Regions from separate parts of the Homo sapiens genome. Here all the other regions are linked to region 3. The links are contacts of gene promoters, found by promoter capture Hi-C in human tissues and cell types (Jung and others, 2019). All regions are on one chromosome and are shown on one strand. Each heading gives the region's core, a stretch centred on a gene start or on the middle of the fragment in contact. The rest is flanking DNA. Distances are from core to core; before and after follow the strand shown.

Region 1 (3,501 bases), core at 6-2,505, 460 kb after region 3:
CCTGGATTCCCAGATCTCTGAGCAAAGACACATCATAATTTTCTCTACACGTATGGGAAAAAGAGCAAGCCTCAAAAAGGACTGCTATTATCACCAAAGTAAAGCTTGACATTCCATGTTTCCTGAGAAAAATGTGGATCTAGTACGTTCCTTGATCCAAATCACTAAAGAACACTTGCAAAATTCCTACAGAGCTCCACCTTGTCATATTCTCTATACCTACATATGTATTCTTTTTTTGTTTTTGAGACAGAGTCTTCCTCTGCTGCCCAGGCTAGTGTGCAGTGGTGCAATCTCAGCTCACTGCAACCTCCACCTCCCAGGTTCAAGTGATTCTCCTGCCTCAGCTTCCTGAGCAGCCAGGATTACAGGCACGCGCCACCACACCCGGCTAACTTTTATATTTTTAGTAGAGATAGGGTTTCACCATGTTGTCCAGGCTGGTCTTGAACTCCTGACCTCAAGTGATCTGCATGCCATGACCTCCCAAAGTGCTGGGATTACAGGCGTGAGCCACCGTGCGTGGCTTCTATACCTACATATGTATTCTGGTTTATTTTTCTTCATAGCACTTATCTCACTCTTTGATATTATATTAAATATCTGATTATTGCCTCTCTCACTAAAATATAAACCCCAAGAGGACAAGGACTAGGTTTGCTTCATTCATTGTTGTGTCCCCAGTGCCTATCTAGTACACTGCCTGGCACACGGTAAAGGTCAAAAAGGATTAGTTGAATGAATGAATGTATGAAAGTGTGAATACTAAAATTTAAGCTTATAGCCAGTTGGACTGGGTTCACAGCACAAAGCTGTTCTATGATCATACAAGTTATTTGCAAACTTATAGCTTGAGTTTTGGAGCACTAATGCAAAGTTTGGCTACTGAGATACAAAAATGTCCATACCCTTTGATCAAGAAGTTCCACAGGCTAGGTGTGGTGGCTCATGCCTATAATCCCAGCACTTTGGGAGGTCAAGGCAGGCAGATCACTTGAGTCCACGAGTTCCAGACCAGCCTGGGCAACATGGTAAAACCCCATCTCGACAAAGAAATGCCAGAAAAATTAGCTGGGCGTGGTGGCATATGCCTGTAGTCCCAGCTACTCAGGACTGTGAGGTGGGAGGACTGCTTGAGCCCCGGCAGGTCAAGGCTGCAGTGAGCCACAATCGTGCCACTGCACTGCAGACTAGGTGACAGAGAGAGACCGCATCTCAAAACAAGAACAAAAACAATTATTTATTAATAATGTAACATTTATAATTTAATGTCAAGCAATAGGATGAAAATTATGGTATATCTTTAATAAAGATATTATAAAGCCACTAAAAATGTTTTATGAATTTTAAATCATATATGTAAAGGTTTATGATAAACTATTAGATGAAAAGAGTAAAACCAGAGTTGAATATACAGTATAATACCAATAAAAGAATATGCCAAAGTTTAAATAGTACCAAAGGATTGTGATATGGGGAAAAAAATCCTTCTATACTTTTTTTCTCTTTTCTGAATTTTCCAAATTTTCTATGAATGATCAGGTCACAATTGATCAATGAAAGAGATAAAGTGAAAAAATACAGATTATCTTGTTGGCTGATAATTTAACCTTTTTTCTGTTGTATATAAGCAAAATTATTAATCACATGTAATAAAAATGTTCAGTTAGACAATGCTATGAAAAGTAGTAAAAACAGTCCTTGTAGTTTTTCTCGGTAATTACAAGAAAAATTGTTCCACAAGAATTTCAAAAAAATTGTTTGGCAAATAAAACTATATAATTTCAATTCATTTGGAAAGTTTAATGATGAAAACGCATAGGTGAGGATGGCAATTTCTAATGAATTAGAGAAAATGGTAACTCTTTTTAAAAGATTCTACATGCAAATCAAAACCACAATGAGATACCATCTCATACCAGTCAGAATGACTATTATAAAAAGGTCAAAAAATAACAGATGCTGGTGAGGTTGCAGAGAAAAGGGAATGCTTATACACTGCCAGTGGGAATGTAAATTAGTTCAGCCATTATAGAAAGCAGTTTAGTGACTTCTCAAAGAACTTAAAACAGAATTACCACTCGACCCAGCAATCCCCTTATTGGGTATATACCCAAAGGACTATAAATCATTCTACCATAAAGACACATGCATGTGTTATGTTCACTGCAGCACTATTCACAATAGCAAAGACATGGAATCAACCTAAATTACCATCAATAGTAGACTGGATAAAGACAATGTGGTACATATATACCATGGAATACTATGCAGCCATGGAAAAGAAAGAGGTCATGTTATTTGAAGCAACATGGATAGAGCTGGAGGCTATTATCCTAAGCAAAATAACACAGGAACAGAAAACCAAATACTGCATGTTCTCACTTATAAGTAGGAGCTAAACATTGAGTACACATGGACACAAAGAAGGGAATGACACAGGGGCCTACTTGAGGGTGGAGGGTAGGAAGAGGGTGAGGATCCAAAAATGAGCTATTGGGTACTATGCTTATTACCTGGGTGATGAAATAATCTGTACACCAAATCCCCATGACACACAGCTTATTAATACCTATGTAACAAATCTGCAAATGTATTTCTGAACCTAAAAGTTGAAAAAATAAAAATTAGGCTGGGAATGGTGGCTCACGCCTGTAATCCCAGCACTTTGGGAGGTTGAGGTGGGCAGATCATTTGAGGTCAGGAGTTTGAGACCAGCCTGACCAACATGGTGAAACCCCATCTCTACTAAAAATACAAAAAAAAAAAAAATTTAGCTGGGTGTGGTGGTGCACGCCTCTAGTCCCACTTACTTGGGAGGCTGAGGCAGGAGAATCGCTTGAACTAGGGAGGCAGAGGTGGCAGTGAGCCGAGATCATGCCACTGCACTCCCACCTGGGTGAGAGAGCAAGACTCCATCTAAAAAAAAAAAAAAAAAAATCAAGATTTGTGTTTTTTAAAAAAGATTCCACAGGGGTTGTTTGTTTGTTTTTTTTTCCGTGTCTGGATTTTTCTTTTCTCTTCTTCCTTTAAGATGGTAAGTTAAATGAAGTTTTATGAGAGAGAATGAGTCTAAAAGAGAAAAAAATAGCTTTGGACTTGCTTTTGAATCTTGTTTTGTATCTCCAGGTTGCAGAGCTCTGATTCTCTTAAGAACTGCCCTCTCTCCAGCCCTTTAGGGCAAGACAAGAAAGGAGACTAAATTGTGCTGGGAGCAAAGTCAGCCAGGGAGGCACCCTGTGCCTTTTAAGAAGTAGGCTTATTCCCCCACCAGATTTGACATGTTAAAGCCAAAACTGCTGCTAGATATCATCTAGTGGTTTTGAAAGTATACATTTTAAAGCCTCGAACACTTTGTTCAAATACCATATAGTTTGATAGCAAAGAGGTAAAATAGAAAACCCAAGTGTTGTGGATATAGGGGCCTACAGCCCCCTATTGCTAGGAGCTTTTGCTTCTCTTCTTTCCCTGGGGCTATGGGGTGAGGATTTCCTGGGGCTG
Region 2 (3,659 bases), core at 498-2,997, 490 kb after region 3:
TGATTTTTTTTCTGGATGAAGTTGCCAAAATTCTACATTTACTTTTATTTTGTGGCATTTTTTTATTGTCTCTATTGCTAAAGCAGAGCAGACAGATAGATAGATAGATAGATAGATAGATAGATAGATAGATAGACAGACAGATATATCGATTCATTCATTCATTCACTATTTCATTCATCCTAATTTGGTTCAGGAAGAATATAAGATGGTATTAAAGCAAGAAATGGGAACACTCTGCTGGTGTTATTCAGTATTCCCAGGAAGTAAATATTACATAAGCTAACTAGAAAGCATATGTCACAAAGATTGCTGAACAATGGTTTATAACCAGGAAAGTTGTGAGAAGCTTAACAAATCCAGAGATTTATAATGATCTCAGGTTATCTACCACCAGCAGACAGAAGATGCAGTAGCTAGAAGCTGGAGGACTTTGAATTTCCAGGTGGCAGAAGAACCTTTGGGAACCAGCTTTGGGTCCTAAAAATTCCAGACAACAGATAGAAGGCGAGATAAGGAATAATTAAAGACCGTCTCACTAAGTTATATTTGAGATAGGAAAGGGATCCACTTAGGCATTTTTTAACACTTTGGTCAATTAAATTAAATAGCAGGGAACAGTAGAGATGGTTACACTTAGGACATTCAGTATTTGGTCACTCGCTTGCTTATTCTTTCATTTTCTTATTCACTCAATCTACACTTAGTATCTACAAAATGCTGGATATGGTTCTAGGTGCTAGAGATACTGAGATAAAGATGAAATCCTTTGCTTAAAAACAAAATCCACTGGTTTCACAAGACTAGAGTTTAGACTAAAACATGCATAGTTTAAACACTAATTACATTAATTCTGGCTTCATATTTCCTTATAATAGGGTATTGAAATAAATTTTTAAAATGCTACCAGAATAATATATCAAAAATGATCTGCTCAGAAACTTAATAAATTCTAATGCTATCACATAAACACAATGATCATTTTAATAGGTAATAACACCATCTAAATCAATATTAAATCCATAGAATGATGAATTTTACAGGTGGAAGGGACTCTAGTGATCGTCTTGTCCAACCTTTTAATTTACAGAGCAGGAAACTCAGACCAGAGTGAGGACCTGACTTGTCTGAGGCCACCCAGGAGAATTAGTGGCTGAGCCAGAGTCCAAATTCAGGCCTCCGATCCTACCTCAATGCTCTTTCTTTTCCGTTCCTAAACACGTAAAATGGCTATTGAATCACTAACCTTTGTGGGCATCTGCTTGTAAGACTGGTATAGGAGTGAAATAGGGATCTGTGCAATGAGAAGATGGCAGAACCGTGAGGCTGGATATGTTAGACCCTTTGATTAACTTCGAAACCTTTATCTAGATAATAAAAAATTTGTTTCAGCAAACATTTTTGCCTTCACAGTGAACAGTTTTCTTCTTGTAAACAATAAATAAAGTTATGAATAGTTGCATTAAGTTTTAATAAAGTAGCAATATCAGCTCCAATTTTATTGCTCATGAATACCCTGTGCTATTGTCTACTACCATCAGGAGTTTGTGTAATTTAAAATAGTTAATTAAATCCAATTAACAAGTTGTGATTTCCACTATATAAAGTCAACATAGTAGTTAATAAAAGAACTATTAAGATTTTGTTCAATTTTAATGACTACAATATACAAATGCTAAATCTTGACAGAGGAGGTTTTGAATACAGCAAAGTTTTGTACCAAAAAATTTCCCAGGAAATAAATGTTAGAGTGTTAATGTTAAAACAAAAAACCTGGAAGACTTAAAAGATAAACATGTCAATCAATATTAATTCTGGGTAGATTCTTTTGCAGATCTCAGAGATGGTTACAAAGACACAATATCTAGATCAGTTAGAGAAGATAATTACTTTTCCTAAAGTCATAAAATGCTTTTATTACAGTTACAAAATATGAATTGTTTCTATTAAATGGTTTCTAGATTTTAAAGATTACATATATTGCATATAAATCACATTTGATTGTATAGTCCAACTATACTATTTTTACCTTTATCGTAGGAGTTTATGAATTACCTGGGTTCTCTCAGCAGGGAAAATGCAACTTTGGTATTTATAGTTTGGTATTTATAGACTGAATTTTCAAGTCATTTTCCAAACATTAATTAATTTACATAACTTCCAAGGGAACTAGGTAACAGTTTGCTATTTAACTAATAAAGAACTCAAGACAGAAAGATTAGAAATTTGTTTCAGGCCATGCAGTATACTAGATATGCACAGATTATTCAATTCTGAAATTAATCTGATTTTACATTGGTAAAATTTGCCATTGGACTCGGTTGCACAATACCTTATTGCCATTAAGGTCATAGTGACTTTAAGGAAAAAGAAAGGGAAAGCTTCATCAAGACCAGAGGGAGAAAATCACTTTACAAAATAAGTATCTATTAGCTGAGAAATGTCTGGACAAAGGGTTAGGGCCCCCACTGCCAGGATGTGGTAACACCATGAACATCAAACACTTTGATGATGTTTGGTAAATAAATAAAAATAGTATTTTGAATAGGAAAGAGTAGACTGTTAGTGCAATCTGTTTCTCCCCAGGTGAGTCAGAAGGGGAAAGGGAGGTGCTACCAGCCTCGCCTTAATGAGAGTGCAGGACTCATAAGAAGATTTATTTATTATGAGACTCTGGTCTTCCTGATCCACATTGGTTTCTTGCCCTTATCCTCAGCTCTCCTCTCCCCACCTCATCTCCAGACATGAGTAGCTTCCAGGATCTCCTCCTAATCAGTAAGGCTGAGATATCCAATGCACTGTGCTCTAGCAGGCATGTACATAGCTGAGAATATTCAATATCAAAAGCGGCAGGGTCTCCACTTGTCTGATTGATATAAAGGTCAGTGAGACAAAGGTAAATCGGAGGAAGAGAGAAAGATTCAACTTAAATAAAACTGTCAAGCACTGTGATGATGTAAAATATAGGTTTGGCAGTTTCAGGACAAAGAGGATAATTTATCCGGATTTTCTCAAAGCCTTTGACAAAGAACACCTGACAACCTGCTCTGACAAGCTAAAGTAGCAGGATCGAACATAAAACACAACATAAAGGATGACACAAAGGAGAGGACAGTAGGCAAGTGATGTTCAGACTCTGTCAGGCAATCAGCACATTCATCACACTGCTTTAATTCTTTCAATTGCATCAATCTAAACAATGTAAAAACCAGACCGAAGAACTATGCTGAAAAGGCAGTGAGGTGACTGTGTGTGTAGTGTGTGTGTGTGCACGTGTGTGTGTGTGTATGTGTTGGAGAATGGAAGGTGGTGTTTTCGTTGACAGAAATAAATCCCTCAGATAGTGTCACTGGATAGGAAACATCTGTCCACTCTGCTGTCCTCTTCCATGGTAAGGATAATCACTTCTGCGTATGCTTGGTTGGAGGGTGAAGGAATGAAACAACCTTCAGCATTTACTGAGCACTTACTATATAACACTAACTTTAACACGCTGAGCATTAAATTTCATGAGCAATGGAAAAGCTAAGGGCTGTAGGAGTATAGAAGAGGGAGTAATTAACTCTGCCTGCTTGTATTGCAGAAGGCTTTGCAGCGACTCTCAGCCCTGGCTGTATATTAGAATCGCTCAGGGAGCTTTTTAAAAATACTGCCGCCTG
Region 3 (3,601 bases), core at 911-3,410:
CCCGGGCGCTCCCGTAGAGCTTAGCGATGCTCTCGGTGTCCTTGACCACCGGCCGGAAGGCCGACACGTAGGAGCCTTTGCGTGCGGGCGGCGGGGGCGGCGGGGGCAACGGGGCCAGGGGCGGTGGCAGCGCCTCGTCCGTGCCGTCTTCGTCCAGGGGCCCGCGGGACAGAGCGCTCGGGCAGCGCTCCTCCGCGCCGAGGCCACTCTCTTTGGCTGGCTCGGCACCGTCCAGGGGCTCTGGGGCACCGCTGCCAGCAGCTGCCGCTGCCGCCGCCGCTGCCGCCGCCACGGCTGCCGCCACGGCCTTGGCTTGGCTCTGAGCAGCGGGGTAGGACGGTACCGGGAGGCTGCCTGCTGCTGGCCAGAACATGGGAAACGTCGGGTACACAGTGGCGGCGGCGGCCGCTGCAGCCACTGCCGCTGCGTCCTTGGCTGCCCCGGAGGGTTGATGCCCCCAGAACATGGCGCCGCCGCCCGGGCCCGCCCCTGCCCCCGGGGGCAAGTGGCTGGCTCCCGGGCCCCCCGCACCCCCGCCTGTCCCCGCGCCGCCGCCGCCGCTCCCAGTGCCAGGACCGCCCTTTGGCTCGCCCGCGCCTAAAACCGGGTCGTCCTTTTTGGGGCATAGGCCGAAGGCCGTAGGGAAGCCGTAAGGATGGGGGAAAAGTGGTGGGGGCAGCTTTTGCAGGAGCCCAAAGCCTTTGCTGGGCACCGGGATCACCGGGTAGCTTCGTACGCCGGCGCCGCCACCGGGCCCTCCTGGGCCCGCCGGGCCACTAGCTCCAGTCGCCAGGCCAAGTCCGCGCTGCGGGTGGGGTGGAGGTGGCCCCGGAGGCCCGGCAGCCTCATCTTCGCCACAGCGCAGGCTTTTGTGGGGCGGCGGGCCTGGGGCCATCTCTGCACCGCACCCTGGGCCACCGCCGCCACCGCCGCCAGCACCACCCTTCCCCTGCCCACCCGACCCGCCATTGGCACCGCCTCCGCCGCCTCCTTGTAGGGAGAAGGTCCGCTTGCGCGTGCCGCCATTAAACATGGCCTTGACGTCCTCCCAAGCATGGCTCAGTTCGTCTGTGGCCGACTTGTCACTGAGTTTGAGGTGACGACGCCAGGAGTTGAAGTTGGCGGCATCGGGCTGCGTGTACTTGGCGTCGGGTGTTCGGTGCGAGTGGAAGATGAACTTGTTGGGCGAGAAGTACATGCTGCAGTAGCCGCACTTGATGCACTTGGCACGAGAGCTGTTGTAACGCGCAGGGATGAAGCTACCACGCGAGCCCCACGCGCACTCGTGCACCACATCGAAGGCGAAGTTCTCGGGCAGCTTGGGTGGTTTGTGCTCGCCCAGGAACGACTTGCACAGGCGTTCGGCCTCTCGCTTAGTGATCATGCCGCAGCGGCGCGACGAGATGGGCATGGCCCCGGCCCGACGCAGAATCTCCAGCTGTACCGGCGTGCACTGCACGCACGTGATGCCCAGGGCCACGCGGCGGTTGTGGATCTCATTATAGCTGTAGTTCTTGAGGAGGGTGTTGGAGATCTGCGCCAGGCATAGGCGCTCCTGGCCGTCGATGACCAGCGACACAATGGGCACCCCGTACAGCGACGTCTCGCCCACCTGGTTGGGTTTGAGAGCGCTGGAGCCCGAGTACGGCTGCAGCTCCTGCTTGGAGTTGGGCGAGGAACTGCCCTCGCGCCCCGGCCCCAGCTGAGTGGTGAGAGCCTCCATGCCGCCGCTCCTGCGAAATAGAGAAAGCAGAGAGCAGATGAGCCATTTTCAGCGCCGCCGCCGAGGCTCGGGCCCGCCCAGCAGGGCGCTCCGAGTTGGGCGCGCGGGGGATACTTGGCAGTGGGGAGTCCAAACTCATTCACCCCCTGGACAGGCGTCTTTTGTTACTCAGACCCATGTTGGCGCCGTTAACAACAGCCCCCGGGGCTTGGGGGAGGAGAAGGGGTAAAGGAGACCTCAGGAATGCCCGGGCTGCAAGGAACCCAATCCCGTTTTCGGATTGGGAAGGAAGTGAAACCCAGATACGCAGAGTGACTTGCCCAAGGCCACACAGCAAAGCCATTGCCAAATCCTGGCTTTTTCAGCGCCCAGATCCGTGCGCCTTCGGCAACCCTCGCAGCCGGTGCTGCCGGCCCGGGTCCTGAAGCCCGGACTTCGGGGATCGGCCGCCCCTCTGCTCAGTCGCGCATGCACGCGGGCGGGCGGGGGCAGTGCAAGGAGGGGTGGGGAGGGGGGAGGGGCGGTCACTGCCCATCTCCAGACAGCAGGGGGTAGAGGGGGGTGAAGAGAAGGAGGGGGGTGAGGAGAAGGAGGAGGGAACCGTGTCTGCCAGGGAAGGAGAGAGGCGGAGGCTACCGCTGTTCGCGGTGCTGAACCTGACCCTCTCCAAAGCGCTCGGTGCGCACCCGGACCTAGCGCGGCCCCCACCGCACCCAGCTTGGTGCCCGAGCCGGCTTCAGGGGACAACATTGCCAGTTTCCACAAACCCGAGCTTCTCCTCTCACGGCTGGCGCCCGCGTTCGTTGAGCAGAAAGATTTCGGCTGGATATATAAACCGTTTTCTTTCCAGCTATTAGTGAGACCAGGATCCTGCAGTTCTAACCACATTTTCTGCATTTTTAGCTGTATTCCAGACCAAAGCTGGTTTCCACCGAGGTCAACGTGTGGGACAGAGAGGTTCTCAAGGAACTTTGTTGGGATCCACTTCTTAGCTTCCAGTCGCCCACTCCTTGAGCTTTCCTCCTTCAGATATACGTTTCCCACTCGGGCCAACTGCAGGATTCGGGGCTCTGGGCTTCCTCTTTGAGGGGCATCACCTCTCTGAGTATCCTTCATGCCTCGCTGTCCCGGCTCATATGGGCTAGAAGGAATCTCAGCCATCTTCGTAGCCATTGCAAGGCTCCAGGCACACAAGTTGCTGCTGGTCCTTGCACTTTGCTTTCTGGCTGAGGCAGGGAGGGAGCTGTGCAGGCAGACCTCAGCAGCGGGGGTACTTGGGGACTGATGTTTGGGGCCCTCTAGGTCGCCTGACCCAGCCACATGTCCTCAGACAAGCCAGGCTCCCATCCGGCCCAAGGCTGCAGGCGCTCCTGCGGCCAGGGCAGCCCAACCCTGAGGGCTCCTCCCCTGCAGTCGGCCCTGAATGTAACTCCGTTTTCAGAGGGGCAGCTCCAGACAGGGGATCCCAGTTCAAAAGCCTTCAGCAAGGAGACTGGAATCTTCTGTTTATCTGTCTCTCTCCCTTCTTCTCTATTTGTCTAGGAGACCCTCATTTGTCGATCTTATCTGTCCCTGAGCTGTCTCTGCCGGCTCGTTCCTCTTTCTCTCATCTGTTTTGTACCTTCTTCAAGTATCAAGCTATTTATGTATTATCTGTCTGTTTCATCTTTATCTCCGAGGATCGAACTAAAATAAGTTGACCCTTATTTCGCGTTGAAGTCCTTTATATCATTGTAGGAGGCAAAAACACTGTCCTAACTCCCCGGCTGACAAGCCTCGCGCCCTCCTGGAGGTGGCTGGAGGGCGCGCAGCGCTGGGAAATGACAGCTTCTCGGTTTCTCGAAATCGGCAACTATGCCTGGCCCGCATACAGTGAAG

The links. The method cuts DNA at HindIII sites, captures the fragments that hold promoters and counts their contacts. A contact is called where the count stands out against the background at its distance.
Region 1: a contact is called between a fragment that was not itself captured here and the fragment with the promoter of SKOR1 in region 3, in 1 of the 25 tissues and cell types used here (lymphoblastoid cells).
Region 2: a fragment that was not itself captured here is called in contact with the fragment with the promoter of SKOR1 in region 3 in 1 of the 25 tissues and cell types used here (spleen).

What each region holds. Positions count from the first base shown.
Region 1 is chr15:67,362,675-67,366,175 of GRCh38, reverse strand. All of the region lies in intron 8 of IQCH (IQ motif containing H), which reads right to left. Among named protein-coding and RNA genes, the nearest start is that of IQCH, 110 kb to the right of the region's middle. The HindIII fragment of the contact is 3,882 bases long and covers 1-3,196 here.
Region 2 is chr15:67,334,683-67,338,341 of GRCh38, reverse strand. IQCH (IQ motif containing H) reads right to left here. Exons shown (of 21, transcript NM_001031715.3): 5 at 1,247-1,367. Among named protein-coding and RNA genes, the nearest start is that of IQCH, 82 kb to the right of the region's middle. The HindIII fragment of the contact is 3,489 bases long and covers 3-3,491 here.
Region 3 is chr15:67,824,068-67,827,668 of GRCh38, reverse strand. It overlaps SKOR1 (SKI family transcriptional corepressor 1), which reads right to left and starts at 2,160. Exons shown (of 9, transcript NM_001365915.1): 1 at 1,960-2,160; 2 at 1-1,733. The coding sequence starts at 2,066. It overlaps LOC124903570, which reads right to left. Exons shown (of 4, transcript XM_047433429.1): 3 at 2,267-3,030; 4 at 2,085-2,156. The coding sequence ends at 2,085. RefSeq lists enhancers at 1-253, 254-892. The HindIII fragment of the contact is 30,837 bases long and covers 1-3,601 here.